2 separate regions of the Homo sapiens genome follow, and region 2 is linked to region 1. Evidence: promoter capture Hi-C in 16 types of primary human blood cells and fetal thymus (Javierre and others, 2016). All regions are on one chromosome and are shown on one strand. The core of a region is centred on a gene start or on the middle of the fragment in contact, and the rest is flanking DNA. Distances in the headings are between cores, read along the strand shown. Region 1 holds the start of ATP6V1C1 (ATPase H+ transporting V1 subunit C1). Region 2 has its middle 21 kb from the start of KLF10.

What was found. Contacts are between HindIII fragments. The CHiCAGO score rates a contact against its expected background, and 5 or more counts as called.
Region 2: a contact is called between a fragment that was not itself captured here and the fragment with the promoter of ATP6V1C1 in region 1, in 1 of 17 cell types (neutrophils). The highest score is 7.5, in neutrophils.

The regions. Positions count from the first base shown.
Region 1 is chr8:103,019,107-103,024,685 of GRCh38, forward strand. ATP6V1C1 (ATPase H+ transporting V1 subunit C1) reads left to right here and starts at 1,977. Exons shown (of 13, transcript NM_001695.5): 1 at 1,977-2,119. RefSeq lists an enhancer at 2,207-2,416. The HindIII fragment of the contact is 13,168 bases long and covers 1-4,020 here.
Region 2 is chr8:102,632,299-102,637,572 of GRCh38, forward strand. No RefSeq gene overlaps it. Among named protein-coding and RNA genes, the nearest start is that of KLF10, 21 kb to the right of the region's middle. RefSeq lists enhancers at 1,770-2,270, 2,271-2,771. The HindIII fragment of the contact is 7,166 bases long and covers 291-5,274 here.

The DNA of each region.
Region 1 (5,579 bases), core at 727-3,226:
GTGAGATACATTAAACCTCATAAAAATTAGAGCTAACATTTATTGAACACTCTGTTGTACTGCCTCCCAAGTATAACATGGTAATTAAAACACTGGAGGCCAGGCACGATGGCTCACCCCTGTAATCCCAGCACTTTGGGAGGGCCAAGTGGGCAGATCACTTGACCTCAGGACTTGGAGACCAGCTTGGCCAACATGAGGAAAACCCGTCTCTACTAAAAATACAAAAATTAGTTGGGTGTGATGGTGCACGCCTGTAGTCCCAGCTACTTAGGAGGGCAAGGCACAAGAATCGCTTGAACCCGGGAGGTGGAGTTTGCAGTGAGCTGAGATCGCACCACTGCTCTCCAACCTGGGCGACAGGGCGAGACTCCATCTCAAAAAAAACCCCAAAACTAAAAAAAAAACCCCAAATGTTGGAAAGTTGCGCGAGGTATAATTCAGTTTAGAAATTAAGAATCCAAGACAAAAAGTCTGCCTCAGGACCACACACAAGCACGAAGAAACCAAGATAGTTCAAGCATGGACCTTAAAACTGCACTGTCTAAGGCTGTTGTCACTGGTCTCATGTGGCTATTTAAATTTTAATTAAAGTGAAATAAATTTTAAAATTCAGTTACTAAGTCACACTAACCATATTTCAAGTGCTCAATGGCTCCATGTAGCTAGTGGGTACTGTACAGACAGCACAGGATAACATTTGCATCATGGCAGAAAGTTTTAGTGGACCTAACCAAAAAAAAAATGCCTTTAGGCTCATTTCGTGATGGCAGATAAAAGCCTCTGGAATTCTGATAAGTTTCTGAAGCCATGTTATAGAACTGGTTATTGTAATTGCATGAACTTCATCCAAAACTGGTGAAAGCGTCAGGTTGGGGATAGTCTGGTGGTTGTTACTTTCTGTCCAACCTAATACTGAGGCTCTGAGAAATTCTGTGGTGAATTTCTGTAGGGGGACACAGCAGAAAAGGCATAGTATAGGTCAGAAAACCTGGGTCCTATAATACATAGTAATAATGACGACCATTTACTGGTTGTTTCCTATGTACCAGGCACTGTGCTAACCACAGGCTTCATTTAATCCTCACAATACCTGTGTAAGGTATTATTACCACCACTTTGCATGTGAACAGGCTGAAATTCAGAGGAGTAAGGTCACACAACTAGTAAGTAGGAGAGCCTGGATTCAACACCTGGTATCTATTCCCTTGCGCTGAACAACTCCGTGCCCTCACTTTCTTCATCTGTAGATCTAAAAGGATTAAATTAGAACATCTCAAAATTTCTACTACTTCTAAAACTCTGTGTTCTAAATTAGGACATTACTATCTATCTCCCCAAGCTAATGAAATAAGCAGGGTTCCTGGGAGGAGCTTGTTACCTATTTTTCTCCAAAGGAGATGCTTTCCCCTGTCTATGCCTCTGTCCTAAAACCTTTGGTTTCCCACTATCTAATGTGGTTTCAACTATCTATGAGGCGCTTTCGTGGCAAGGAGTGATTCTCTCCAGTAGGCAATCCTAAGAACGAGCGCAGTGCTTGGCGCACAGTAAATGCTCCATGGACCATTTATGAAATTAAGTCTAAGTGGACTTCAGGAAAATGTGAATCTGCTAAAATGAACTACTAGCCAGTATACTAGGTAGAAAACCCAGCTGACGAAGAAAACCCCAAGTGGAGAAGCCCTTGTAGGGGGTTGGAGACAATTTCTGACCCGCAGAAACCTGCAGTGGCGCTGACGTTTACAAGTGGTGGACAAAACGCCACTTGCAACACTGGAAGAAGCGGAAAACCCCACCCACTCTGGAACAACAGCGATCAGCCCCGAATATAGGGTCCCCTTGCCGCCCCGTAGCCTCCTAGTCCCGCCCCTCTCCCAAGGCCCGGCAGTGGCAGCGGCTGCGGCTGCGCAGTGGCGCGGGCGTAGGCGGAGCAGCGCGCGCCGCGGTCAGCTGACTGCTGGGCTGGCACGTGACTTGTTCTGTGTTCGCTTGGGTAGAGGAAGCCGTGAGGCCGGAGCTTAGGTCGGGAAGGGATGGATCGCTGAGCCGATAGCGTCCGCTAGGCTGTCTGCCTCGGTACCTGTTACTGCTGCTACTTCCTCGTTTGACACCTTCCTGGGTCAGTGAGCGATGGCTCTCCCCGGATGGGGAGTCCTGGTCAGGCCGAAGCATGAGCTCCGGTCGCTGCCTGGGAGGGACGCGGGTGGGTGCGGGGGCAGAGACCGTGGCGTTGGAGCTGGAGCTGGCTGGGTGGCTGTGTCTGGTTTCTCGGCGCCAATTCACCGTCTTGGGCCTAGGTTCCGTCTCTAAGGAAGAGAAGGAGGGAAAAAGAGAAAGAGCTCTCGTGGGTAGTTAATGACAGGCAGAAAGGAGAGATACAGCGGTCTGGGATCTTTCTTCTTGGGTAGGAATGCACGCCGCCTGATTGATTGAGGGGAATGAAGTGATAGGTCCAGGTGAGGCTATGGAGTGGTGTGTGTGAGGTCACAGCTAGCGCAAGTGCCTTCACTGGGTGTGTGTTGGGGGGGGCGCGGGTGTCGGGGGTCGGGGGTGGTGGGATGACAGTTTAAAGGCCTAGGAGCCCCTAACTGCAGGCAAGGAACCCTCACAGAGTACACAAGGTCCCTCTAGGAATGAGAAAGAACAGGAATCCAGAGAACTCAACTATTTTTTAGTAGAATGGGGGAGGGTAGGCAAACAAAACAGAACAAAACAAAACAAACCCCTAGAAAAGAACTTGGTGAGAGTCACATAAGGCATATTGAATCACTTGAGAAACAGGAGTAAGGGGGAAGCTAGTATTCTTTTCAGAGGAAAATTCTGGTATGTTAGGGAAAAATCACATGCTTCAGTGCGAGCCCAGTACTTAGCGCCGCTCTGGGAATGGAACGGGTGGGATGTGAACAGTCTATCCTTAGGAGTTAGCACTAACGTTGGAGAGAAAAGTCTACACACAGGACACGTTAAAATACGATGCAGTTTATGTATACTTACCAAAAAGAGAATGCGAAGTGCTTTGAAAGTGTGGAGCAACGACACATGTGTAAACTGGCACTATGGGAAGATATTCTGGAGGAAAGAAAACTTGAGTCTTGGCAAGCCCTCAGGATTTGAACAGGTTGAGAGAAATGGGGATAATTTTACAGGCAGGGAAAGCCACAGGATTTGAAAGCCTGAAGATGGGGGTAGGGAATGCTTCTGGTGGAGTCAGAAGTAGCTTTTACAGTGGATTGCACTGCGGAGAAGTGGGAAAGAAAGTTGGGAGTCAGGTAACGAGGACTTTTGAATGGTAGTCGTTTACTTATTCATGCAAATAATGTGTACTGAATACATGCTGTATGCAGGTACAGTGCTGATGGTAGGGTTTAGAAAATTGTCTTTATAGAGCTTACAGGCAAGCAGAGGGGATGGATTTTAAAAATCAAGCAAGCGTGAAATGTGCTTTGAAGGAATAACAGTGGTATGAAAGAGTGTAGTAGGGGCATGTGTATTATGGAAGATTTTAAAAAGGCATTGCTAAGAATATGACTTTTTAAAGATTAAAACAATTTTATTTATATTCTTCATACCCTCTCGCTCTGAGAGGGTATGACTTTTGACCTGAGATCTGAAAAGAGACTGAAAAGGGAATGTGAAGGTGTGAGTGAAAAGAACATTCCAGGCCTGGCAGGGTGGCTCGTGACTATAATCCCAACATTTTGGGAGGCTGAGGTGGGAGGATTGCCTGAGGCCAGGAGTTCAGGACCAGCCTGGGCAACATAGTGAGACCACCGTCTCTACCAAAAATAAAAAAATAACTAGCTGGGAGTGGTGGTGTGTGCTTGTAGTCCTAGCTGCTCGGGAGGCTGAGGCGAGAGGATCATTTGAGCCCAGTAGTTCGAGGCTGCAGTGAGCTGTGATCATGCCACTGCACTCCCTCCTGGGAAACAGAGCTAGACCCTGTCTCTGAAAAACGAAAAAGGAACATTTCAGGCTGAAGCAACAGCGTATGTCAAGGCCCTGAAATGTGAAGAGGAAGAAAGCTTTTCAGCCTTTTTGAAAGGCTAGCATGGCTGAAACGGGGAGGGAGAGAGGCAGGTGGAGAAAGCTGGGGTCACGCCAAGCAGAGCTTTTATTCTAAAAACAGAGGGAAGCCAGTGAAGATTACAGGCAGTGGATTGAGACAGGTTGTGGCTTTTTTTTTTTTTTTTTGGTGGGGGGGAGATAATGTGGAGGGTGGCAAAAGTGAATGAGGGGAGACCCGCTCAGGGGAACATTGTTGTAATCCACTGAAGGATTTGAAGACAAGATACCTTCTCTCTCCACTGAGGACTTCAGAATGTTTAACTGTATTCACTTTTAGAGGGTTCAGGACTTGGGGAAGGGAAAGAATGATTCGATTCTATTTGTACCCTTCACAGGGTAGTCGTAACTACCCTCGAGGCAGTCCTGAAGTACATAGCAGAGGCTCTTTTGCAAAAATTTGTTTTGGCTTTTCAAATTTATCCTTTTGTAAGGTCATCTATTTCAGAATATCTTTTATTGAAATATAGTTACAGGGAGGGATCACTTTCATATTTATTTTGTTCTCACAGTTCTTTGAAAGACAGTGGATGAAAATGCTATTCATTGTATAGATGGGAACCTGGAGCTAGAGAAACACGTAAAGTGATTTGGCTGAGTCCGGAGTAACTGCCACAGTTTTCTGACTGCTGATGTATTCCTGCTGATTACCTACACAGTACTAACCACAGTCACATCTAGAGAAAAGGGCGAGTTTTTTGAAGTGCACAGTAGTCTTTGATTCAGCATTTTTTTTTGGGGGGGGGGAACTTCTCCCTGAAGAGTCAGCACTTTTGATGAACTTTTTCTAGTAGAACAGCTTCAAAGGAATTGGCAGTGGTGGGCTATGTCTTATCTATAATCTTGGATAGAGCTGTTCAATTTACAGTTCATCTGGAGGAAATAATGAACAATAAGGTGAACTGAAAGTGCTCAGGTTGTCAATCACAGTTCTTTGGCAAAAAGTGAGTCTCAAATTATGCTGAAGACTGAGCCTCAGGGTTCTGTCTCAGAAGTCCTGGATCTTTTTCTCTTTTGGTATACCTTGTAGGGACTAGATAAAATCTAAAGAAACAGTACTCAGGATCTAACTAAATGCTGAGAGCTAGATAGTGTAATTCAGCTTTTAAAACTTGGCACAAAATACTCATTTTTATTTTTTTGGTATATTAGTCTTAGGAGCCTCATGTACATTAGTTTTTTCAACCTAAAAAGAAACTTCAGGGCTTCAAAAATCTGATTTTGTGATTATTTCCACAACTCACGAGATAATACCATTGGCCAACTGGAATGCCAAAGTAAACCTTTGCCAAAGGTCTCCATGTAGTTTACCCGTCCCTAAGCAGCAAGTCTTCTTTTGAACTTGGTTCTGCTTAGGAGTACTACAGTTTTGACTGAGTACCTCCTACTTAAAATTTTGCTCTTGTACATATTTAAATCTGTCTACAGGTTACATCTTTTTCACTCTTTGGGTGTGGAATTATATATCATTTATAAATTAATTCATGTTAGATTTCCATTTTTCATCAATTTTTAAA
Region 2 (5,274 bases), core at 2,624-5,123, 380 kb before region 1:
CTAATTTTGAACCCCCAAATCAGGCAGGCTTGCCCACCCTGCTAGAGGAGCAGAACATAACTTGCACTCCTTGTTGGAAACTAGAACCTAAGGGAGAGCAAAGAGGAAGAAGTTGTGGTCTGTCTTACAAAATCACCAACCTGGCAGGGTCTCACCCCATTCCAAGGGAGTAAGGTCGCAGGAGAGGTCACCGGGAACTTACAGTCCGTGGAGTTACTGACATCTGGAAGGGAGCATCAGGAATGAGGTATAACAAGTTGGGGAGGGGACTGCCTAGCAGGGGTGAGGAAAGCTTCCCAATTTCACCCAAAGGACAAGTGGTGGAACCGGCTATGTCAGCACACATCAAGCATGCGGAACCGATCTTCAAGTTCTGTATCTCATAGAAAATGTCTGCAGGCAGAGCAGCCAGCGCTTGCCATCAACAAAGGGGAACAGATATCAGATGTTGTCAGTATACATCCAGTTCTGCCTAGGGAAGAATCACTCCTCCCCCTGGAAGCCTGAGCTTCCTGGCTGGGACAAGGACCTCCTCCCCTGTAGCAGAGCCAGGCAGCTCTTCCCCAAATTGGCTTCCTCGTCCTTCTGGGCACAGCTGGGTGACATCTTCCAGTGTCTCCCGGAGTTACGTATGGCCATGTGACTCATTTCTGGCCCATGGAAAGTAGGCACAAGGGCTGTACCATCTCCAGATGTGCCCCATGCAGCAGGTTGAATCGTGTTCCCTCCAAAATTCATGTCCACCAGAGCCTCAGAAAGTGAGCTCACTTGGAATAAGGGCCTTTGCAGGTGTAATTAAGGTAAGGATCTTGAGATGACTTCCTGGATTCGGATGGGCCCTAAAGCCAATGACAGGTGTCCTTAGACAGCAAAGGAGAAGAAGACACAGAGAGACACAGGGGACAGGGCCTCGCTAAGACCAAGGCAGAGGCAAGAGCCAAGGCATGGCAAGGATGGCCAGCAGCCCCCAGGCGTGGAATGGGCTCCTCCTTAGAGCCTCCAGAAGGAATCAGCTTGGACTTCTGGCTTTCAGAACTGTGAGCGAGTACATTTTTTTTTTTTTTTTGAGACGGAGTCTCACTCTGTCACCCAGGCTGGAATGCAGTGGCACGATCTGGGCTCACTGCAAGCTCTGCCTCCTGGGTTCACGCCATTCTCCTGCCTCAGCCTCCCGAGTAGCCTACAGGCGCCTGCCACCACGCCCAGCTAATTTTTTCGTATTTTTAGTAGAGACAGGGTTTCACCATGTTAGCCAGGATGATCTGGATCTCCTGACCTCGTGATCCACCCGCCTCGGCCTCCCAAAGTGCTAGGATTACAGGAGTGAGCCACCGCGCCCGGCTGCGAGTACATTATTGTTATTTTAAGCCACCGAAGTGCTGTAGCGGCAGTTTGGTAAAGCAGCCCTAGCAACTGATAGGGGGCATAAAACTCTCCCTGCCGTCTCTCCTGCTCTTTCCCCTCTGGCCGGCTGGCACGGTAACAGTCTCTGGGGTGATGTTGGAAACCACAGGCAGAGGCTGGGGTTCCAGAGATGGAATGTGCGTGGATTCCCGAGTCACTGCTCGGAGGGAGCAGGAACACCTGCCCACAGGGCAAAAGCAACATTAACTACAGTACACAGGAAAAAAACAGGAAAAAAAAATTTCTGGATCATCTGTTACAGTGGCCAAATACCTTAACTAATATCCCCCATAACTAATATCCAGCAGAAAGTAATAAACTGTCATTCTCTATATCAGCATAGTATGGGGAAAAATTACGAACAAAAAATTAAATAAAAAGATAAGAAATTAAGTTTAAATTAAAAAAAAATTTTTAAATGTCATTCTGGCTTGGACAGCAGTCTTGTGGAATTTGTAATTTTAGTCTGTTGCTGAGAGACGGACCCTCTGTGAATACACGGAAAAAGTCCTCTGGTCAGAACTGGGAAGCTGAGAATAAGAGTCTTCCCCTCCAAAATGTATACAAAACTGGAGGTCAGGGGCCCTGCCGCACTCAGCCTGCATCTTGCGGGTATCCCCATTCATGGGCTGTCTCTCCCACTCCACCTAAATCTGGCCAGTCTGTACCAGCAGAGGCCTGCGGAGGGCAGGAGTGTGTGATAGGTGGGCTCAGGGGACGTGAAGACCTGTGCTAGGTGGAAACACCGTGTGGTGTGTCACTGAGAGACATCTTTGCCTCCAAAAGGAGACCTGTGCATGCTGTGGCGCAGGCTAGGAGGGCAGGGGGGAGGGGCAGGCCCTTTTCCAGAGAGAAAGCAGATGACAACAAGGCCAAGAAGGATGGGCGTCGAGCTAGAGCATCCGACCTGCAAGCAGGGCTGCACTGCCCAGCATTCCTGCCACCTCCACACGTGTCTCTGAGTGTGTAAGTGGCTCTTTTAGGGGAGCCTGCCGTTGTTACTGGATCTGTAAAGGCATTCTGGGACTCTCCACACCAGCTCTGAGCTCCTCGAAGGCAGGAATGTGATACCCCTGGCGTTTGTAGTTCACGGGAGGCAGCGTTGGTGGATGTGCTGGCCTAGGAGGCTATGGTCAGATCATGAAAATCTTCTGAATGCTGTGAGAGGTTTGGACCCCACTCTATGGGTAATGGGGTGGCTCTCAGGAGGAATCTTTAAATTCTGTATTTTACCCCTGAGAGGATATGAATTTATAATACCCCATTGTTCAGCACAAGAAGAGGCACTCAGGCAACTGACATGAGGAAATACTTGCCCTGTAGCAGCTGCTCACACTACGGTGTAGGACAAACCCAAAACTGGGGCAAGACAGCACAGCCAAAGGTGTGCACTTAACCAGGGACTTAATCTAAACACAACCAGCAAAGAAAAACTCAAAGCGATCCATCAGCCAAAACCAGAACACCAAGTGGTGGGGACGAACGGCAGAATTTCTGACCTCTTGGTTCAGCCAGGCCCCAGTAAAAACCAACAAAAGGGACAAATCAGGGGGAAAAAATCTGTATTTTAGACTGCTAATTCTGGAAGCATGGCCTGTACAGAGCAAGACCACCGTAAACATTTGTGTAGCTGAAAGCAAAAGTCAGTATTAATGCTCATCACATAACATGTTTCAGTTTCTATCCCTTAAACACACACACACACACACCACATACCCCAAAAGCATGGATATCCTGTGAATGGCTGGTTTCTCACTGTGAAAGGAAAATAAATCTTGGGGTCACTAAGCTAAAGGGAAAACTCATGCTGGGAACTGCTTAGGACCAACCTGCCTCCCATTCTATTCAAAGTCACCCCTCTCCTCGCTGACATAGATGCATATCTGATTGCATCCTTTGCAAAGGCTAATCAGAAACTCAGAAGAATGCAACCATTTTTCTCTCACCTATCTGTGACTTGGAAGCCCCGCCCCACCCCTTCAAGTCTTCCTGCCTTTGCTTCAAGTTGTCCTGCCCTTGTAGACCGAACCAATGTACTTCTTACATATATTGATTGATGTCTTATGTCTCCCTAAAATGTTTAAAACTAAGCTGTGCCCCGACCACCCTGGGCACATGTCATCAGGAATTTCTGAGGCTGGGTCAGGGACACATCCTCAACCTTGGCAAAATAAACTTCCTAAGTTAACTGAGATCTGTCTCAGATTTTCTGGGTTCACACTGTGGTTTCCCCAGGCTGCAGTCCGAGTGCAGTGCTCTGCTGCCTGAGAGCTGGCCAATGACAGAGGTCCCTGAAGGTGAGGGTTGGAAGTGCCACGTCTGATGTCAGAAAAAAGGCTGCTTCAGCGGGGTGCGGTGGCTCACGCCTGTAATCCTAGCACTTTTGGGAGGCTGAGGTGGGCAGATTGCTTGAGCTCAGGATTTCGAGACCAGCCTGAGCAACATGGCGAAACCCTGTCTCTACTAAAAATGCAAAAACTAGCTGGGCATGGTAGTGCACGCCTATAGTCCCAGCTACTCAGGAGGCTGAGGCAGGAGAATCACTTAAGCCCAGGAGGTGGAGGTTGCGGTGAGCCAAGATCATGCCACTGCACTCCAGCCTGGGTGACAGACTGAGACTCTGTCTCAAAAAAGGAAAAAAAAAAAAAGAAAAAAAGAAAAAAAAGGCTACTTCAGTCCCCCAGTAATGTCCCAGCATCCTCAGTTTCCTCCATGAGCGTAAGCACAGGCCTTTGAGCAGGGATGGCAGCCAGGACTCAGTCAGCAGGCAGCTCTGCCTAGCAGCTGATGTGGAGAAGATTTCAGGCCAGTGAGGTTTCCCTGGAATCCAGTTTTGGTTTTTCTTTCCATCCCTTATTCCCTTCTCTTCCTTCTCTTGTCTGGCCTGAGGAGCCAGTTCGTGGTTCTTTGCTATGGCAGCCCGAGCAAACAGATACAAACTCTTTCCAGGTGGCTCCAGGATGGGCCCTTTCCCTCGCCTGCCCTGCCATGGGCATTAATCATCAACAGGAGTTGTATGTGTACCATGGAGAGGAAGAAGACATTGCTAGACAAGAGAAGTAATAAGAGCAGAAACAGGCATTGACAGGATACTCTTGCAGTGGGGATGGGAGGTGGGAGTTAGGATAACAGTGCTAACTAACATTTATCGAGCACCTTCTATATACAGGCTAATTCCAATGCAGTATGTCTGCTCACCCCTGAAACAATTCTTTGGAGGTGAGTCTCAATATCACGTCCATTCTATCTACACCCGAGAGTAATGGCTTGGGAAAGTTAAACGTTATGTCCAAGACTAGATAAGTGGGGAAGCCCATGGGTTGAACCCAGGATCACAATGGTTTGTTTTCAACTTTCCAAGCACAGGAGAATAGAATTTGTGCTTTAAAGCTCACCCTGATCTTCCCTCGGGGGTTTAGCCTGGGGCTGGGTTGAGCATCCTAGGATCAGCCTGACCTGAAGTTGTTCTTGCCTGTTAACCTCCATCCCAGACATGGCCACTGGGCAGGTCCAGGGCTAAACCAGCCAAACCAGAGCAGAGGAGTCAAGGCCAGGGCCAAGTTCTTGCTCCAGTCCTCTTCTAGAGTGGCTGCTGGCCACTGCAGAGACCACCTAGGGTGCCTGTGCACTGGCCAAGAGATGCAGGGTGGTTTGGGCACAGCCATATTTACTCCCATTAAAAAGGATTTTCTACACAGCTGTTAAAGAAAGCCTGAAAACAGAACCAAACAATCCCCCAAAATGTTCAGATTCCAAAAAAAAGGCTGAAAGCCTCTTCACTCAAGCAACAGCCCAAGGAGAAGGAGCCAGCTTATAGCTCCAGCTTCAGCTCCTACCAACAGTCAGGGACTCAGCTGTCTTGCCTAACTC